3 separate regions of the Homo sapiens genome follow, and all the other regions are linked to region 1. The links are contacts of gene promoters, found by promoter capture Hi-C in blood cells and fetal thymus (Javierre and others, 2016). All regions are on one chromosome and are shown on one strand. Each heading gives the region's core, a stretch centred on a gene start or on the middle of the fragment in contact. The rest is flanking DNA. Distances are from core to core; before and after follow the strand shown. Region 1 holds the start of ADAMTS1 (ADAM metallopeptidase with thrombospondin type 1 motif 1). Region 2 has its middle 25 kb from the start of HEMK2. Region 3 holds the start of LTN1 (listerin E3 ubiquitin protein ligase 1).

What was found. Contacts are between HindIII fragments. The CHiCAGO score rates a contact against its expected background, and 5 or more counts as called.
Region 2: a contact is called between a fragment that was not itself captured here and the fragment with the promoter of ADAMTS1 in region 1, in 1 of 17 cell types (megakaryocytes). The highest score is 5.6, in megakaryocytes.
Region 3: a contact is called between the fragment with the promoter of LTN1 here and the fragment with the promoter of ADAMTS1 in region 1, in 4 of 17 cell types (fetal thymus, megakaryocytes, erythroblasts and 1 more). The highest score is 13.3, in fetal thymus.

What each region holds. Positions count from the first base shown.
Region 1 is chr21:26,843,824-26,847,023 of GRCh38, forward strand. ADAMTS1 (ADAM metallopeptidase with thrombospondin type 1 motif 1) reads right to left here and starts at 1,586. Exons shown (of 9, transcript NM_006988.5): 1 at 402-1,586. The coding sequence starts at 1,131. RefSeq lists enhancers at 1,770-2,370, 2,371-2,970. The HindIII fragment of the contact is 3,865 bases long and covers 1-2,179 here.
Region 2 is chr21:28,908,869-28,912,005 of GRCh38, forward strand. No RefSeq gene overlaps it. Among named protein-coding and RNA genes, the nearest start is that of HEMK2, 25 kb to the left of the region's middle. The HindIII fragment of the contact is 657 bases long and covers 1,473-2,129 here.
Region 3 is chr21:28,991,230-28,994,420 of GRCh38, forward strand. LTN1 (listerin E3 ubiquitin protein ligase 1) reads right to left here and starts at 1,648. Exons shown (of 30, transcript NM_015565.3): 1 at 1,535-1,648. The coding sequence starts at 1,576. It overlaps LOC105372766 (a long non-coding RNA gene), which reads left to right and starts at 1,874. Exons shown (of 3, transcript XR_007067835.1): 1 at 1,874-1,902; 2 at 2,341-2,452; 3 at 2,553-2,952. RefSeq lists enhancers at 1,453-1,562, 1,873-1,932. The HindIII fragment of the contact is 7,723 bases long and covers 1-2,802 here.

The DNA of each region.
Region 1 (3,200 bases), core at 336-2,835:
AAAACTCAGCGCAACGTTGCAACCCGCACAAAAGGCGCACACAAAATCATTAAAAAGAAATACACAGAGTGGAAAGAACTCGCACAAGCTCCAACTCGCTAAAGGTGGAAGGAGTCAGGTTACAAACTCTCCCTCCCCGGCCTAAATGCTTTGCTTTAGTTTGCAGAAAATCGTTTGTCAGTTTTTTTCTTGGTTATTCATTATTCGGGCAAATGCAAGTATGTTTTCTAGCTGAGTTCACCAATCCAAACCTCAAACCACATTCCTCCACTCCAGGCCTCCGTTCTGTCCGCGGACTTATGATCCTGCCTGCCAGCAGGAGTCTACCCTGAAGTCGCGTGGGATAGATAAAGTGAGGAGAGGAGGATGAATGGACAGACAAACGAGAGCAATTCTTCTACCTGTGGGCTGTCCTACGCCTTGCAGTGCCGGGTCCTGCGGCGACCACTGAGCCCCTTCGTCCTCGCCCTCAGTCCCTTCGTCCTCGTCTTCGGTCTCCGCTTTCCCAGTCGGCCGGGGCTCGTCGTCCACGACCCCGCACGTGCCGCCGACGTCGCCCTGCCGATTCCGCCGCAGGAGGTGGAACTGTAGTGGTGCCGGCGGCTTCTCCCCTGGGGCGGCGGTGGCGAGGCGCTCGCTGGCGGCGGGCAGCGGCTGGATGAAATACGCCTCCCCCAGCAGGTAGAAGGCGCCGCGCACGCCCTCGCAGAGGCTGAGGGCGGCAGCCGAGCTGGGATCGCCATTCACGGTGCCGGAGTAGAAGCAGTGCGCCAGGTCGGTTTCCGGAAGCGGCGTCTCGGACCCGGATTTGCGCCCCACGTTCTGGAGCGTGAAGCCGGGCGCCAAAAAGCTGCTGTCGGGCCGCAGCTCCAGATCCAGCTGCTGGTCAAAGGCGTGCAGGCGGAGGCGCGTGGTCCCGTGTCCCGGGGCGCGCTCCAGCTCCGGCACCACTAGCTCCTCGTCCTCCTCGGAGGGGCGCCCGAGTGCGTCCGACACGGCCAGTAGCGCCGCGGCGAGCAGCAGCAGCGTGGGTACTGGCCCAAAGCTCCGAGACCCCGGAGCCCGCTCCGCGTTCCCCATGTCGCTGCCCAGCTTGCGCCTTCCGAACCCCTCGGGCACAGCTCGCTGCATTGGAGCCCCAGGAGACACCGCTCGTAGCAGCGCACGGAGCGAGGGACCTTTAGTTCGGGTCGGGAGAGCAAAGCCTCGTTGGCCTGCTCTGGATTGTTAAAATTAACAATTTCTATTATTCGTTGGAAGGGCGCGCAGAGCCGGCTACAGCCGAAGCTCCCGGAGTCACTAAAAGGAGGCGCTGCAGTTCTGCCGGCGCGCGGGAAGTTTTTCTTCCAGCGCAAAGTTGGAGACACTGAGAGGCAGGCGCAGGCAGAGTGGCTCTGCTGGGACAAGAAGCGCTCTGGGGCGCCTCCGGGGCTGAGGCAACGCGGAGATTGGTGCCTGGCGCCCCTCTTCGGCCTCCGCCTTGGCTGCGATGTTGCTCACTCTGCTCAGGGCTCTCCCCTCTCCGTCCGGTAGCGCACCCTGGCTTTGCAATAGCCCCTGGCTCGGAGCCGCTTTCCAGCGAGTGCAAGAACCGGGCAGCCGAGCGGTCCTTTTATAGTGGACCAGTGAAACCCCCACCCCCACCCCACTCCTCCCCTTTGGCCCTTTTCCATCCCAAAGACGCCGCCCCCGGCTCCGTTGGTGCTAAACCGCGCTCCGCGCTGCGGGCTCGGGAGGGGGAGGGGGCAGCCTCCGCGCTGGCTCCACGCCACTGCTCGTCAATCTAGGGGCGGAAGGGGCGCTGTGACCAGCACTTTGTACTGCTGGGGCCGCTCCAGGGAGAAGACTCTCCCTTCCACCGCTTTTCTCCCTCGCCGGTTTCCTGGACCACCCTTCCTCCCCACCGCCCGGTTGCGGTAACTCAGTTACCGCGCTGGGCTGCGGTTCCCAGGAGGGAGGGTTCGGTTGGAGAACGCAGTCCCTTCTTCAACATTTCCCTATCCTGGAGCTGCCCTGGGTCTCCTTCCCTCCTCCCTCAGTTCCCTCTTCCCCAATCTAGGAGATGAGCTAGGGCTACACTTTCTAGAAAAATACCTCACCCCACTTCTCCACCTTCCCAGCCTGCCAGGAGCTCCTTAGCCGCCGCCTGCTCTCTCTTCGCCCCAGCTTTTCTAGGGAAAGCTTGGCCCTGCGCTTCCCCCAGAAAGCATGCCTGGGTGAGGGGCCAGGTGACACTTCCTACGATCTGGATTTTAAAATATGTTTGCTTATGCCTTCACCCTCCACCAACCCCCACCCCGCACGCCACCTCTTCACCAGAGACGACTTTGTGAGGGCCCGGTTTCACATTTCTGGAATGGGTGATCTGGGACGCGGCTCAATTCCCTAGAGCATAAGGAGGGAATTGCGCTTTTTCTTCTTCATTCGAGAAATGATCGGCTCCCGCCAGTCTGCGTGCTTTCACTCAACAGCAGCTGCAAGCCCTAGGCCAGCGTCGCAGAAACGGCCAGGAACCCCACTTTCCTACCCGGGGGCCAGCAGCGATCGCTGGGGCTAGCAAGCGTGCAGAGGGGGAAAGAAGGAAATCGGCTTCCTTCCCGGACCCCTCCTTCCTCTTCCTACCAGGAAGGGAAAAGGCTATATCCGCGTTACGAAAGCGAGGAGAGGTCCACCAACAGGTCCTTAGGAAAAAAAACTGAGTGGCTCTTCTCTCCAAAAAGTGGGAGGGGCTCAAGGACCCAGAGGAAGGACGTGTTTCACAGGCGGAAAGCCGCGGGGACAATGGCGAGAGCGACCGCCCTAGCCCCGGGCGGACCCGCAACCCTCACACTCGCGCGCCCCCGCGTTAGTGCTCGAACTGGTCTCCGCCTTTCCGCCCCACTCCCGTCCGGTCTCTTGGTTGGCTCCAAGTAGATCTGGGTCCTTTCCTCGCTCCTCCCCAGATCTTCCCCACTTCAGTTGGCCCCAGCCAGAAGCGTCCCTTCTAGTTCTCCCACACGTCCCTCTTACAAGCTTTCTTTTCCGGATGCTTTCCAACTTCTTTTTTCCTAGCGAGATTGCTTACTTGAAAAACAAAAACAAAAACATTGCTTTCCACTCATCAGGAAAAATCAAATGAGCAAGAATGGCAGAGAGAAGCAACTCAGCTTACTTCTGAAGGGCTTAGTAACGACCTCTAGTCCCTACACATTTAGGAGTGG
Region 2 (3,137 bases), core at 551-3,050, 2.1 Mb after region 1:
AGTGCAAGATTTTCCAAGCACGTCTTCCTTCTTCCACTTAGAATTCCTTCACAGACTCTTGTTGTCTATTTTGTGTAAAGCACCATAGGAAATACAAAATGATATTTTATATGCTGTCTTTCCCCATAGAGCTTGTTTTCTGGTTGACATATGAATGGAGACTCCATGAGGTCTGGAACTTTGTCTGTTTTACCCACTGTTAGGATCTAGTGCCTAGAACAGCATCTTGCAGAGAAAAGGCACCCAAGGAACATTTGTGGAATGCATAGATGAACATTAGTCATAACCAACAAACATTTATATGTCTAATATTTATTCCCCCCACCTCATTTTTTCTTTAGAGATGGGGTCTTGCTGTGTTGCTCAGGTTGGACTCGAACTCCTGGGCTAAGCTGATCTTCCCGCCTTGGCCTTCCAAGTAAGTGGGATTACAGGCTTGTGCCACAGTGGTTGACTGTGCCCCCTAGTGTTTTTTATTTTTTATTTTTTTAGACAGAGCCTCGCTCTGTTGCCCAGGCTGGAGTGCAGTGGTGCGACCACAGCTCACTGCAACCTCCGCCTCCCAGGTTCAAGTGATTCTCCTGCCTCAGCCACCTGAGTAACTGGGATTACAAGTGTGCACCACCACACCCAGATAATTTTTGTATTTTTAGTAGAGATGGGGTTTCACCATATTGGCCAGGCTGGTCTTGAACTCCTGACCTCAAGTGATCTGCTCACCTCAGCCTCCCATAGTGCTGAGATTACAGGTGTGAGCCACCACGCCCAACCTGCCCCCTAGTATTTTAAGTACAGTTGCTGCCTCATTTGATTCTCACAATTCCATGAGGTAGGAACTATTAATATTTCCATTTTGAAGATGGGGAAACTGAGGCTTAGAAAGATTTAAGTAACTTTTCCAGTGTTCCCCAGTGGTGATCCTGGGATTTGTAGCAAAGTCAGCTGGCCCTGAAATCTGTTCTCTTGACCACTTTGTTCTGTTGCCTCTGCATACTAAGCTGTCTTCTCCCTCAGAGTAAAATACACTCTTTTCCTGTTTTTATAACCCAAATCAAGAGGTGCTTATAATGGCCTCACATCTGTGATATAAACAACAACGGGCTGGAAAGTTTTGGAGAGTCTGAACCAGATGTGGGACTAACGCTGCCCTTGAGGGATAGGAAGGATTTGAACAGGTGAGAGGTAGAGCTCCTCTCACTTAGACTTCTGGGAGAAGATGGCTTGAAAATCCTCTCCATAATATTGTTATATTATAATCTCATAAAATATTATAGTTATTGTCGTTCATCTTTAACCCAGCTTCATCATCTTAAACAGCTTGTGAGGGTGAGCATACAGACTTGTTCATATTTCTACACAAGCTCAGCACATAGCATGGCACCTTCTCTTTGATTTGATTGAAATTGAATTATCATTGATGGTAAGCTGGATGGGCTTGGGAAAGTATTCTTGCCAAACCTTGAATTCCGATAAGCTTTTCTTTTTCATGTTTTTCTCCAGCCCTTCCTCTGCTTTTGAAGAAGTCCTAAAGAAAAAAAGAACACAACTCTTCATGTGAAATCATTTTTGACGTCTTTGGAGATTTCTCTAGGTTCTGGCCCAAGCCTGACTGTTGTTCTGTTCCACCTACATTCTTCCTACACTTGAGGGATTTGAAAAAATGTACTTAATGATTTGGACTTATTTTAATTTTCTCTAACTTATTTATTTTCTCTGAGGTTAAGAACATTTTGTAAATTCACTAACCAAAGATATTTTGCACACGATGAAAGAGCTTTTAAAAAACATTGGATCGGAGTTAGCATATTTCCCCAAGGAAAGGAAATACACAAACTAGTCACATGATTGATTGAAAAAAACAAAGCAAGAGAACTAAAATATCCTCCTGAACTAGTTCCTAAGGTACACTCTTTTTCCATTCTGACACAACAACTAGTCTGCACTGTTTGTTTTTTGAAGTGAAACTTTGGTGGGAAAATTTATAACCAAAATTTCTGTATATTTCACACTAACATTCTTTCTCTTGCCAGACATTTTGCTGTGAACTCAGGCATTTATCCCCATATGTTTTCCAGCCTGTTCAGGTGTTCATCTCTCTTGTTCTCAGTAAATACTAAATTTTCAAGTCAAGCTTCTGGAAAGGTAGTTTGGTCACCATGTTTTTGTAGAGAGTGATTATAATGCACATTTTCTTTCATTTGTTCATAATAATGAACACAAACCCCTGGTGTGAATTTCACTTTATTAGTAGAGTCTTTACAGTCTGAGGATCTGATATTAGTAAAGAAGTCAATTTTGAAAATGTTGGCTATCTGAAGAAGAGTGACAAATCATGAATGACCTAATTGATATTGACAAAGCTATTGAAATTGTTAAACTGACAGACCAAAATTGACAGATAGACCAAAATTGATAAATTGATAAACATATTTTTGAGCAGTGACTATATATATGCAAAGCCAAACTTCCATTTGAAATTTGCTCTCTACTAAACAGAAGCAAAGATGTAGGGGCTTGGAGTAGGCACCTAGTTAGCGATATCATTCCTTATTCCCGCCAGTAAATCACTGACAAGAATAAACTCTTCCCATCCGTTTCCTCTTTCTAACTTACTGTAACTGGGCAGTACTGTAACTGGACTGATCTCACACCCAGATCAGTCAATTTTTATAACTGACATTTTCTAATGCATTCAGCTCCATTACCAGTGCCACCAACTATTACTTCTGATTTACTTTGGAATTAATTCAAACTTTTTTCTCCAGATTTCATCATGCTAAGAAACACTTCTCATGCCTGCAACACCTAGTATCTATTTCCGTAAGTCAAATTTAAAAATATTCATAGACTTATCTTTGCCCCAATGTCAGTAGCTGTCAGGGACTCAGGAGACTCTAAAGATTCATGAATAATAGTAGTAGAAGTAGCAATCGTAATAGTAAAAGTAGTAAAAATAGCAGAAATTATATTATTTACTGGATGCTTTCTACCCAGGCACTGTGCTAAGCACTTTATTTTCAGTTACGATTTCATTTTACAGAAGAAGAAACCAAGGCTCAGAGAGGTGAAATAACCTTATACAGTCCAAGTGGTAGAGCCAGAAAATTCATTGTTTTTTAAAAGTTTAATAGAACTCA
Region 3 (3,191 bases), core at 398-2,897, 2.1 Mb after region 1:
GCAGTGGGCCATGATCATACCACCACACTCCAGGTTTGGAGACAGAGCGACCCTGTCTTACAAAAAAAAAAAAAAGAAAAAAGAGAACATTATTGGGATAACTACAGAAGTCTAAATACAAGGCTGTATCCTGGATTACAGTATTATACAAAAGTCAAAGTTTCTGCATACTATAACCATTATTATAATTGCTGCAGGCTAGAAAATGGCATTGTTTTTAGAAGATACATGCTGATGTATTTAGGAGTTAAGAGTCCCGACTTCTGCAACTAACTCTTATAAGTTCAGAAAAATACATAAATTAAGAGAGAGAAAGCAAATGCAACCAAGTATTAGCAATTGGTAAATGTAGGTAAAGAGTATATGGGATGTCGTTCTAATATTCTTGCAACTTTTCCTCATAAGAACTTTTCAAATATAAAACATTTGAGAAAATCTGTTAAATAAAAAACATTAAAAGATGCAAGTAAAGTGCTTAGCACAGTAACACAACAGGTTGCTATAATTGTTAATACTGTTATTATCTTCCAAAACAGATTAAGTGACAGATCTAAGAAAATGTGACATTGAAATCACTAGAATTAACTACATCAGAAACAGGAAAAAAAAGCATTCTCATAAAATTGGACTGTGCTATAATAAATCTAACACCATAAAAAAATACCATTACAAAACCCCTCATCGTGTAGTTTTACACGAATCCACTTTAAGGTCGTCCTTAAGCAAGTACTTAGTGAGCGTCTATTAGGTGCCAGTCTGTTCTAGGTTCCGAGGATAAAAACATTTGCTTTCAAAATACTTACGTCCTAGTGAACCAAGACAATAAATGTCATAAATACAATGGAGTAAAATAAAGTAGGAAGAACATGGGAGTGGGGAAGGGCTACCAAGAGGGTGATCATGGGAGACCTCACTGAGGTGTCGAGAGCAAAGTTTGGAGCCACCTAACTGAAGAGCGTTGGGAGCCGGCCAGGTAGTCAAGGCACAGTGAAGAGATCAGTGTGGCTGGATGAAGTAAGCCAAGAGGAGGGAGCTGAAGATGGGACTGCAGATGGAAAGGGGTAACAGGCAGTCCAGAAACCAAATATACCATCCTAAGAGCTTTAGCTTAGGAGAAGCCACTGTAGGTAGCAAAGGAGAGGCACAATCTGCGGTAACCTCCACAGTGGATTCACTTTAACATTCTCCCAACTCTCCTTCTTCCCAGCGCCGCCCTCCCCCAACCAACCCGCTACCTCGGCCAGATCACCTTCCAGTGAACCTGACACATTATCATTTCTTCATGAATATTATGGGTGTGTGCTCGGATGAGGACAGCTCTGGCATGGTACATCTTTTCTCTCACGATTCCCCAATCTGCTCAGAGATAACACAAACCGCTCTCAGGGACGCACACACAACAGAGAGGTCACACTCGACAGGGAAACACACGCCTCCCTACAGCCGCGCTCCACACACCCTCCAGCAACGCGCTGGGCGGAGCCAGCCGCCTCGAAGCGAGGCTCCCGGGTCGGCCGAGCCAGCCCCCGCTCACCCTCAGGTTCCCTTTAGTTCGCTGCTTGTTCTTCCCGCCCATGGTCGCGGTTGCAGCTGTACTCTGAGCACTCAGACCCCGGTTGACACGTCCGGGACACAACTTCCGGCTTCTGGCGGCGGAAGAGGACACCCTGTAATAACTTCCCCCGGGCCCTTTTCCGCCACCCACCCTGTCCATTTGCTGCCCCACTTCCGCTCCCGCCTCCCGCTGTGTCCCTGACCATCCGCCACCGGAGACGTCACAGCTAAAGCCACGCCTGTCTGAGTGATGTCATTCCTGGCCAATAGGAAGCCAAGCATTGGACCCGTGGCGCCAAATCCTGTCCTCCCCGCTTTCAGAAGCTAGGTTTGTTCCTTGCTTAGAGGGTAGGAAACTGGCGTGAATCATCAGAGGGGCAGTTTCACATAAGGGTAGCATTAGAATGTTATGGTAGAGGCTGTGGGAAGATGGGAGTGTTTTAGACTTCCAACATGATGCAATCATCAGTATCACCTGGGCGTTTTTTAGAAAAGGCCAACTCGGGCCCCTCAGAACTCCTGAATCAGATCCTGCATTTTGACAGTATTCCCAAGTCTTGTTAAAATTTGATTACTGCTGTAGGCACTATTCTCTCTAAATCTCCCCTCCCCGTCCCCTTTTATTCATATTGAAACTGTTAACGTGCAGTTTAGGAAAGAGGATAATGTGGGAGTCCCTATTAAAATTTGAAATGTACAAATCCTGTAACCCATTGATTGTGCGACTCAGAATCACACCAGAGAAACAAGTAAATGTGTGCTGGTTATTGTTTCTTGTCCACGCAGTCACCCTTTTATACTCAACTCCATGTTACTGGGGGGGCTTCTGCTAGATTCCACCAACAGGACGAACAAGAGGGAAACAAAGGCAAGAGGAAGAAGGGACTTGCTCCATTCTGTAAGCATCATGCCAGCAGCAGCTGCATTTTACCGTGGCAGGAGCAATTGCTTTAGCCAAAAGGTGGTTTTAATCTCTATCCTTTTTCCAACAATCACAGAATCAGCCTTATTGCACCCCTCAGAGATCACAGCAGCAGTCAGTGCTCTCCTCAGAGATCTGAATTCTACTTTCATGCGGCCCCTCCCCTGAGCTCCTGAGATAGCCAATGTTTGAGCCACCTCCTCAGAAGTTTGAGCCTCAACACCGTGGGATCCCTTCTTTGTGCTCCAGAGATCCAGTAACAGCCAGCCATCACCCTCTCTTCATTCTTCATAGGCCTGAACTAAGGTGTTCAGGGCCCTCCTTCAAGCTTTTAGGTTCTGATGACTCCAACCACTTCTTTTGTTCCATCCTTTCCTAGCTCTAGGAATGGTAGCTGCTACCTGCAGTGATTACCTGTTACCTTTTATAATTCCTTTTGACCAATTTCCCATATTAAAATATTTCTCAATAACTAATGTGATTTCTGTTTTCCTGACTGGACCCTGATTTTAAAATGCACACAAAAGCCAGGTGCAGTGGCTTATGCCTGTAATCCCACCACTGTGGGAGGCCGAGGCAGGTGGATCACCTGAAGTCAGGAGTTCGAGACCAGCCTGGCCAACATGGCAAAAACCCATCGCTACTAAAAATACGAAAATTAGCTGGGCAGTGGTGGCAGGTGCCTGCAATCCCAGCTACTTGGAAGGCTGAGGCA